2 separate regions of the Homo sapiens genome follow, and region 1 is linked to region 2. The links are contacts of gene promoters, found by promoter capture Hi-C in blood cells and fetal thymus (Javierre and others, 2016). All regions are on one chromosome and are shown on one strand. Each heading gives the region's core, a stretch centred on a gene start or on the middle of the fragment in contact. The rest is flanking DNA. Distances are from core to core; before and after follow the strand shown. Region 1 overlaps SHPRH (SNF2 histone linker PHD RING helicase). Region 2 holds the start of RMND1 (required for meiotic nuclear division 1 homolog).

Evidence for each region. The method cuts DNA at HindIII sites, captures the fragments that hold promoters and counts their contacts. A CHiCAGO score of 5 or more calls a contact.
Region 1: a contact is called between a fragment that was not itself captured here and the fragment with the promoter of RMND1 in region 2, in 1 of 17 cell types (naive CD8 T cells). The highest score is 9.2, in naive CD8 T cells.

The regions. Positions count from the first base shown.
Region 1 is chr6:145,958,651-145,963,022 of GRCh38, forward strand. The region is part of intron 1 of SHPRH (SNF2 histone linker PHD RING helicase); the gene reads right to left. Among named protein-coding and RNA genes, the nearest start is that of SHPRH, 3.5 kb to the right of the region's middle. The HindIII fragment of the contact is 5,758 bases long and covers 1-4,282 here.
Region 2 is chr6:151,450,321-151,454,525 of GRCh38, forward strand. RMND1 (required for meiotic nuclear division 1 homolog) reads right to left here and starts at 1,806. Exons shown (of 12, transcript NM_017909.4): 1 at 1,696-1,806. It overlaps DCPH1 (damage control phosphatase 1), which reads left to right and starts at 2,146. Exons shown (of 5, transcript NM_024573.3): 1 at 2,146-2,266. The coding sequence starts at 2,226. RefSeq lists enhancers at 1,534-1,583, 1,774-2,223 and a silencer at 2,384-2,503. The HindIII fragment of the contact is 8,083 bases long and covers 1-3,426 here.

The sequences.
Region 1 (4,372 bases), core at 154-2,653, 5.5 Mb before region 2:
CAAAGCAAATCCAATAAGGTAGTTATTGGCTGCATGTGACTACTTAACTTTCAATACAGTTATGCATTGTATAATGACATTTTGGTCAATGAGGGACCAAATATTACAGTGGTTCCATAAGGGAGCTGAAAAATTCCTATGGACTAGTGACATCATAGCCATTGTAACATCATAATGCATTTATTTATTTATTTATTTATTGAGATAGAGACTCACTCTGTTGCCCAGCTGGAGTGCAGTGGCGTGATCTCTGCTCACTGCAAGCTCCACCTCCTGGGTTCATGCCATTCTCCTGCCTCAGCCTCCTGAGTAGCTGGGACTACAGGCGCCTGCCACTATGCCCAGCTAACTTTTTTTTTGTATTTTTAGTAGAGACGGGGTTTCATGTGTTAGCCAGGATGGTTTTGAACTCCTGAACTCAAGATCTGCATGCCTCAGCCTCCCAAAGTGCTGGGACTACAGGCGTGAGCCACCGCGCCTAGCCGCATTACTTTATTTTTTAATAAACTTTGTGTAGCATAAGTGTACAGTGTTTACAAAGTCTACAGAAGTGTACAGTAATGTCCCAGGCCTTCACATTCACTCCCTGACTAACCCAGAGCAACCTTCAGTGTTATAAGCTGCATTCATGCTAAGTACCCCACAAAGGTGTACTATTTTTTATCTTTTATACCATATCTTTATTGTACATTTTCTATATTTAAATATGTTTAAATATACAAATACTACGGTGTGACAACTGCCTACAGTATCCAGTACCGAATATACTGTACAGGTTTGTAGCCTAGGAGCAGCAGGCTGTACCATAGAGCCTAGGTGTGTAGTAGGCTGGCGGTACCACCTAGGTTTGTGTAAGTATACTCTTAAGATGTTCACACAACAAACTTGCCTATGATGCATTCCTCAAAACACAGCCCCATCATTAAGTGATGCATGACTATAAATAAAATTAAATGTTATAAACTCAGCTCTTCAGTCTCACTAGCCCCATGTGCTCAGTAGCGCTATGTGACTAGTGGCTACTGTACTGGACAGCACAAATATAGAGCATTCACATAATTGCAAAAAGTCTATGTATCAGACAGTGCTTGTTTAAGTCAATCATGAGAATTCTATTCCCTTAGCCCGTGCTTCACTTATGAATGTGCAGGTGATGGATTAAAATCAATCCTTGGCTATGGTCAACTACTTTTAAAGCATCTTATCCTCTCTTATCTTAGTGGAATAATATAGAAAGCTCTTAATTTCCTAAGTGTTTATGTTTGTCCAGTTTTCCTCAAAGCATAAGCTGGAATACTGAAAGTGGGTCACTCTGCAGGAACTTTAAAAAGTTATGCTATAGTAGCTTATCAGTTAACTACTGCCACAAACATGCTGTGTAACACACTACCTCAAAGCTCAATACCTTGATATAGCAATCATTTATTCTCATAGATCTGCACATTAGCTGAAGGAGGCTAATCTAGGCTAGGTTTCTGGAAAAGCAGTTTGGCTCTGCTTAATGTAGTTCCTATCCCCTCTCCTTGGATCAGCAAAGTAACTCAGGAATGTTCTTTATGGCAATGGTTGAGGTGTATTACTGCAAATCCAATCACACAAGTAGTTTTCAAAGTGCTTAAAAACCACTAAGGTGCCACAGACCAAAGCAAGACATATCCATGGACCCAATGTCAAGTGGTGAAGAAATATACTACACCTCTTTACTAGGTGAAACTGCACATGGCAAAGAGCATGGATATGGGGGGTGGAAGGGTAGAGGGAGTGTTGGAAGGGAATTGGGCCAGTTACACAATGTATCACACTAACCATAATAATATTAATAACATGGTTATTGTGGAATCATTAACTCTGAAAACCCAAAAAGCAACTGTCTAGCAGAGTCTCACATTAGCAAAGCGATGTGGCTTAAAGGTGAGAATGCAATGCTTTGAAGTCTTATATTCATTCTAATTCCAGCTTTGGCATTTACTGACTGTGTGGCATTGGAATAGTTATCCAGTCTTCTGTGCCAATTTTCTCATCTCTAAAATGGGGATGATAGCAGGATTGTGGTTAGAAATAATTTAAGTACAACAGCAGTACTAGAAATTTGGCCTGTATTCCATAAATGGTAGTTGCTACTTATCATCATCCTGAGAACACTCTAAACCAGCAGTTCCCAACCTTTTTGGTACCATAAATGGGTTTCATGGAAGACAAGTTTTCCATGGACCGGAGGAGAGGGGTGGAGTGGAGAGGGGGTTGTTTAGGGATGAAACTATTCCACCTTAGATCATCAGGCATTAGGTTTTAATAAGAAGTGCACAACCTAGATCCTGCGCATATGCAGTTCACGATAGCATTCATGCTCTTATGGTAATCTACTGACTGTTGATCTGACAGGAGGCACAGCTCAGGTGGTAATGCTCGCTTGCCCGCAACTCACCTCCTGCAATGCAGCCCGGTTCTAACAGGCCACGGACTGGCACCGGTCCATGGCCTGAGGGGTGGGGACCCCTGCTCTAAACCACATTTCACAATAACCAAACTGTAATGTCGCAGGATGGGGGACCACAGATTAGTGCTTCTCAAACTTGACTGCACATTAGAATCACCAGGGGAACTTAAAAAAATCCTGATGTCGAGCCAACTAAGTCAGAATGTCTTGGAGAAGGGCCCAGGCACTACTCCCTTTATTTTTTAGAATCCCTAAAAAATTCCAGGGTGCAGCCAAGTTCAAAAAACCTTGTTATGGATAACCAGCTGCCAACTAAAATCCACTTATTTCCACTCAAAGTATAGAGTAGTTGAGAAATGACTGCCCAGCTTGGTTTGGTCCTGTGACCAGTCCTAGCCAATGGAATGTGAGAAGTAATATGTGCCATGTTTCCCACAATAATTTTGTAACAGACATATTACCAAACCAGAAAACATTACTTCAACTATTTATTCTGTTCTCTGGTAAAACCTATCCAGTATCTTTTAAATTATGTACACCATTATAATTTGCACATTCCTTCAGATGTATTCTTTCAGCCTGATTCTTCCAATATTAGTGCCTCAAGGTACTTATCAGTGATAATGATAAACTGCAGAAAAGTCAACACCAGAATTTCTAGCAATGCTCTCCCTTTGTCCAGTTCTTAACTGAGTAAACATTCATGATCAAAAATCAACCAACCAAACAAAAAGCTCCTGGTTTTGACTGAGTCTTTACTTAAGGAAATCTCTATTCAGGGTTAACTTCTTGAACCAAAGAAAATAGTATTTGGTCAAATATACTTATGACTAAAATGCAATTTGGCAACTAGTAAGTCAAGTACTGGTGAAATTCTGTATCTAACCACATCCCATATTCTTCTGGTTTTATTCATACCTTATCAGTCACAACTACTTCTTCCTCCTCCTTAATTAGCAGTGTTTGGGTAAAACGTAATTATGTGAAGTTTTCTATATGGACCGCACTTTTACTGTCTTGTATTTAAATATAAAAGCCTTTTGCTTGAATTGCTTTTATGCCTGTCTCCATCCCAATCTTCCCTGGAAAGGCTTCCATGACTAGAGAAGCTGAGTTAAGGGCCTCTCTCTCCTCGATCCCAACTGCTAGAGTGTTCACTTTGAAAGATGGGCAGGAGTAGTATCCTATTCAGTGTTGTACTCCCAATGCCAGGTCAGTGCTAGGAAGTAAAGACATACAAAAAGGGTGAAACAAAGATCTCTAATTCCGTGGATGTATTCCCTCCTTTTGAGGACCTAACGATACTTTACTCTTATTTCTTTTTGGAGAAGTCTCTCTTATCCACATTCTAGAAGACTATAGGTAATATGAAACTAGTATTTCTGAGAAAAATGAAATACTAGAACGAGGCAGGGAAAACTGCCTGAACTGTATCTTTAACAGAAAACAAGGATGGAATGCTAGAAAAATAAACATAAAATGTTACATTACTAAGACAATCCAACAAATGAATAACACAACTTAAATTCACATTTTTTCCCTCCAAAATATTATTTCCTCTTTAAAAGATACACACAAATCTTGAATTACAACAAATCCATGGTAGATCTGGGTTTAGGCTATTAAGGGCAAAAAGGATTACATACTTGCCATATTCCTGTCCAAAATGTTGTGTTATGGAAATGAAGCCCACTCATTACTAAGTACTAGGAAGCTCTTAATGACCCAGGGTTAACATAATCTTTTCCTTTTCTGTAGAAATAATTCCAGCAAGGTGAGAGTATTTTCTTCTACTGAATGCTAAAATATGCTAGTTACATAAACTTTAAAAATGCCCTCATAAGAAGCTTTTTCACCAGCAAATTGTTTCCCCTAAATCTTACTGGCCTAAACTCTTAATAATAAAAGTTTTGTTTTAATAATTCTGTAAGTCCA
Region 2 (4,205 bases), core at 556-3,055:
CCCTCCGCCCGGCAGCCACCCCATCCGGGAGGGAGGTGGGGGTCAGCCCCCGCCAGGCCAGCCACCCCATCCGGGAGGGAGGTGGGGGTCAGCCCCCCGCCCGGCCAGCCACCCCGTCTGGGAGGGAGGTGGGGGGGCCAGCCCCCGTCCGGGAGGAAGGTGGGGTGTCAGCCCCCCGCCCGGCCAGCCGCCCCGTCCGGGAGGGAGGTGGGGGGTCAGCCCCCCGCCCGGCCAGCCGCCCCGTCCGGGAGGGAGGTGGGGGGGTCAGCCCCCCGCCCGGCCAGCCGCCCCGTCCGGGAGGTGAGGGGCGCCTCTGCCCGGCCGCCCCTACTGGGATGTGAGGAGCCCCTCTGCCCGGCCACCACCCCGTCTGGGAGGTGTACTCAACAGCTCATTGAGAACGGGACGGGATGACAATGGCGGTTTTGTGTAATAGAAAGGGGGGAAAGGGGGGGAAAAGATTGAGAAATCGGATGGTTGCCGTGTCTGTGTAGAAAGAAGTAGACATGGGAGACTTTTCATTTTGTTCCATACTAAGAAAAATTCTTCTGCCTTGGGATCCTGCTAATCGGTGACCTTACCCCCAACCCTGTGCTCTCTGAAACATGTGCTGTGTCCACTCAGAGTTGAATGGATTAAGGGCGGTGCAAGATGTGCTTTGTTAAACAGATGCTTGAAGGCAGCGTGCTGGTTAAGAGTCATCACCACTCCCTAATCTCAAGTACCCAGGGACACAAACACTGCGGAAGGCCGCAGGGTCCTCTGCCTAGGAAAACCAGAGACCTTTGTGCACTTGTTTATCTGCTGACCTTCCCTCCACTATTGTCCTATGACCCTGCCAAATCCCCCTCTGCGAGAAACACCCAAGAATGATCAATAAAAAAAAAAAAAAAAAAAAACACAACCAGCATCCATTCTCTTATCTTCCTCCACTTTGCATTTCTCCATTGTTTAACATCACTTGCACACCTTTAATTTTTAGTTTATTAATTCATACTGCAAACGAACTCAGTTCTTATCATGTGCCAGGTATTGTCCTAGTTGCTGACAATACAGCTGAAAATAAAATAGACAAAAATCCTATCTTTTGAATCTTTTGAACCTTGCATTGGGAGTGACAGACAAAACGAGGTAAATCAGTAAAATACGTGAGACACAAAGCTAAAGGAAAAAAATAAGAGGAAAGGGCAGATTTTTGTGTCTTCCTTCCAGAATGGAAGCTCCCTGAGGATACGGATTTGTGTTTTTTCCTATTATATCTCCTGACAATAGCGCCCAGCACATAGTAGGCATTCGATCGAATTTTTAAAATGAAATACAAGGCAGTTACTCAGTTCCCGGGCACATTTCAACTTTTAGAGAACAATTACACCAATTAAGAAAATCGATTACAGCTAGGCTACGATTCGAGAGCTAAGTGGCGCTCATCTTTGGGAGTATGCCGTTCAATTCCTCAAACTCAAAATTATTTTATCGATTTCTACAGTTACCGCGGTGCACTGGCTCAAAAAAAGGGTTCATTAATTGAGTGCTTTTTACTCCCAGCTAAGCTGACCAAAGATCACGGTAAGAGGCAAAGGGTCACAGCCGCACTGGCGTAACCCGTAACTGTACACGTTCCGGGCGGCCAGGAGCCAGGGCGCAGACCTCCAAGCCGGACCACTCGAGCTGCTAAAGAAAAGGCAATACACTAACCTCTCCGCCGGAAGAGAAGAAGGAAGCGCCAGGGACGCACGCTTCCTCGGCAGGACTGCAGGGAAAGAGCCGCACCCCCAGCCTCTCACTACTGCAGCCAACCCATCTCCTGGAAGGGCGCTCCCGCCCACCCCCGCTACTGCGCAGCCGCACTGAACTCTGGTCCCACTTAGCGGGAGAAACTCGGGCCACGTGACTGTCTGACCACGTGAGCCGCGTCGCCGCGACCTCTTCCGCTCCCTAGGCCCTGGGACCTCCCGGTCCCTTGCCTGCTTCCGGCTTTCGCTCGCTTCCATATCCGCTCCTCTAGTCGCCCTCCGCTGGCCCCGCCTTCGTCCCCGGAAGATTGGGTCTTCTGGCGAGCCACTGTTTGCCGTTTGATCGGGCACCAAATAAAGTTTCTTTATTCAAAAGCACTTTTTTTTTAAAGCCACACCACCCCCATTCTCAGCTCCTCCTTCGCGGCGGTACCGCCTCTGTTTCTGCGGCGATTGAACAGCCGAGCTTTGCGGCCGGGATCGCGGAAAGTGATGGCTGTCGTCCCGGCGTCTCTCTCAGGACAGGACGTGGGGTTAGTCTAGCTTTTCTCCTCCCCACTTTTGCGGAAAGCCGGGCCTCGCCGGGAGCCTGTGGGGACTAAGCGGAGGGCGCCCGCTCCCCGGTGGGCTGCGTTCGAGTCCCGCCGCCGGGCGCGGCTTTCCGGGGCGCCTTTGCGGGTTTCGCGGACTGGCTCGGAGGCGAAGGGAGGCGGCCCCGGGGAGGGAGCCTGCCCGCGGCGGCTGCTCGTAAGGATCAGGACAGGGGTCAGCTTCGCGGTCTGTTCCTGGCGGTCACTTTTTATTTATTCACTTTAATAGACGCGCTTTGGGGGCGTTAAAATTCTGCGTAAGAGTTGGGGATCTCAGCGCTATTAAGAAACGGGTTTCTCCCTGTTGTTGATCAAATCGTAATCTCACAGTAAGAACTGTCTAGTTTTTTGCTTTATAGTCGTCACGCTACTGATTCTTGGGTAAAGTTGTGGGTGACCGTGCAAATAACATCCATTTGCATAAATCGAATGGCCAAATTTATATTTGAAATTTGTCCTTACTTCAAAATATTGCAAAAGACGAGAACACTTTGAAGAAAATAAACCTGGGCAGAAAGTAGGTTGAGGCCAACAAAGTGGCGCCAATGGCCCCAAATTGAGGCAGTCACTGTTTCAGGTCATGCAAGTATAGAGAGTATCTCCTTCAATTTTGCGCCCTAGGGCTTCTGGCCTCACTCCAGTCCTGGCCAGAGACTTTGTTCCAGAGGTGCAGGAAATGTAGTAGTTAGGAAAACAGTAATACTTTCCAATTAAAGTAAAATCTCAAAAAAGGACTTACTATACCTACTGCCTGGGAAAATTCAAGTGACAGTTGATTTAATGTTCCTGCTCACCCTCTGAGGTATTAGTGATTTCTTTTATTAATGATTTTTAAAAATTAAATTCTGATCAACGTAGTTATTATGCGCATTAAAACCTAATCACTGTTTTGGGTGGTACTGAAAGCACCACAGAGTCGGAAAGTGTGTGCAGTTTTTTTCTTAAAGTTCTATAGCTATCATTTGAGGAAACCTTTTGAAGAAATACCCAAGTTACAATCTAGTAATTTAACAATTGTCTCCTGTGATCTGGAGATAAAAACACTAGTCAGCTAAGCTCTGTGCTCTATATTTAAAACTGCACAGAATTTCTCCACCAAATAAAGCTTTTTTTCTACCTGTATCATGTATTTCCTTAGAATGATATAAAATGATAATCTGTAAATCTTGGGTTTTGTATGAATAAAATCAAGAATATCTTTAATTTTTTAATGCAGGTATAAGTTTTTCTTCATCTCCAGCTTGCTTCATTCTTGAACACTTCTATAAAATCTCTGATTTTTTGAGTGGGAAGAGACAGTAGCACGCCTTCATTTGCTTAGGGGCAGAATAGGATGGAAGGAGTCCATTGTGCAGATAGAGAAGGCAGAGAAGGGGAAAATTTTTGAAAATAATTAAAATTGACTTAGAAAATAGACAGAATGGAGAGAAACAGGCTTAAAAGTACCTTTAATTCTTTATGTTGTTCAAGCACATTAGACCCTTTAGGTGGTTTTAGATGCATTGCTTCATTCATCTTTCTAAGCAGGTGACTTAGCAGATAGTAGACCTGGGACAAGAGCCTGTTTGATTTCTAAGCTAATCCATTCCCTATCCTATCACTTTGCTAAGCGAGTTTCTGATTTAGGAAAATAAAAGCAATAGAATAGGAAAGATAAGAATGATTAAACAGACTCCATGGGAGAATCTGGGATTAGAGGCACCAAGACAGTTTGGCTTCCATGACATACCAGCGAATTTTCCAGGTTTTCTTATGTCTTAATATAGTAATCATACAATACTTGTCTATCTTTTAATAGTTGTATGAGGAGTTTAATATACATGAAGTGTTCCAGAAACTAAAAGATAGCCAGTCTTCTAGTATTGATGCTGCTAAGTTATAT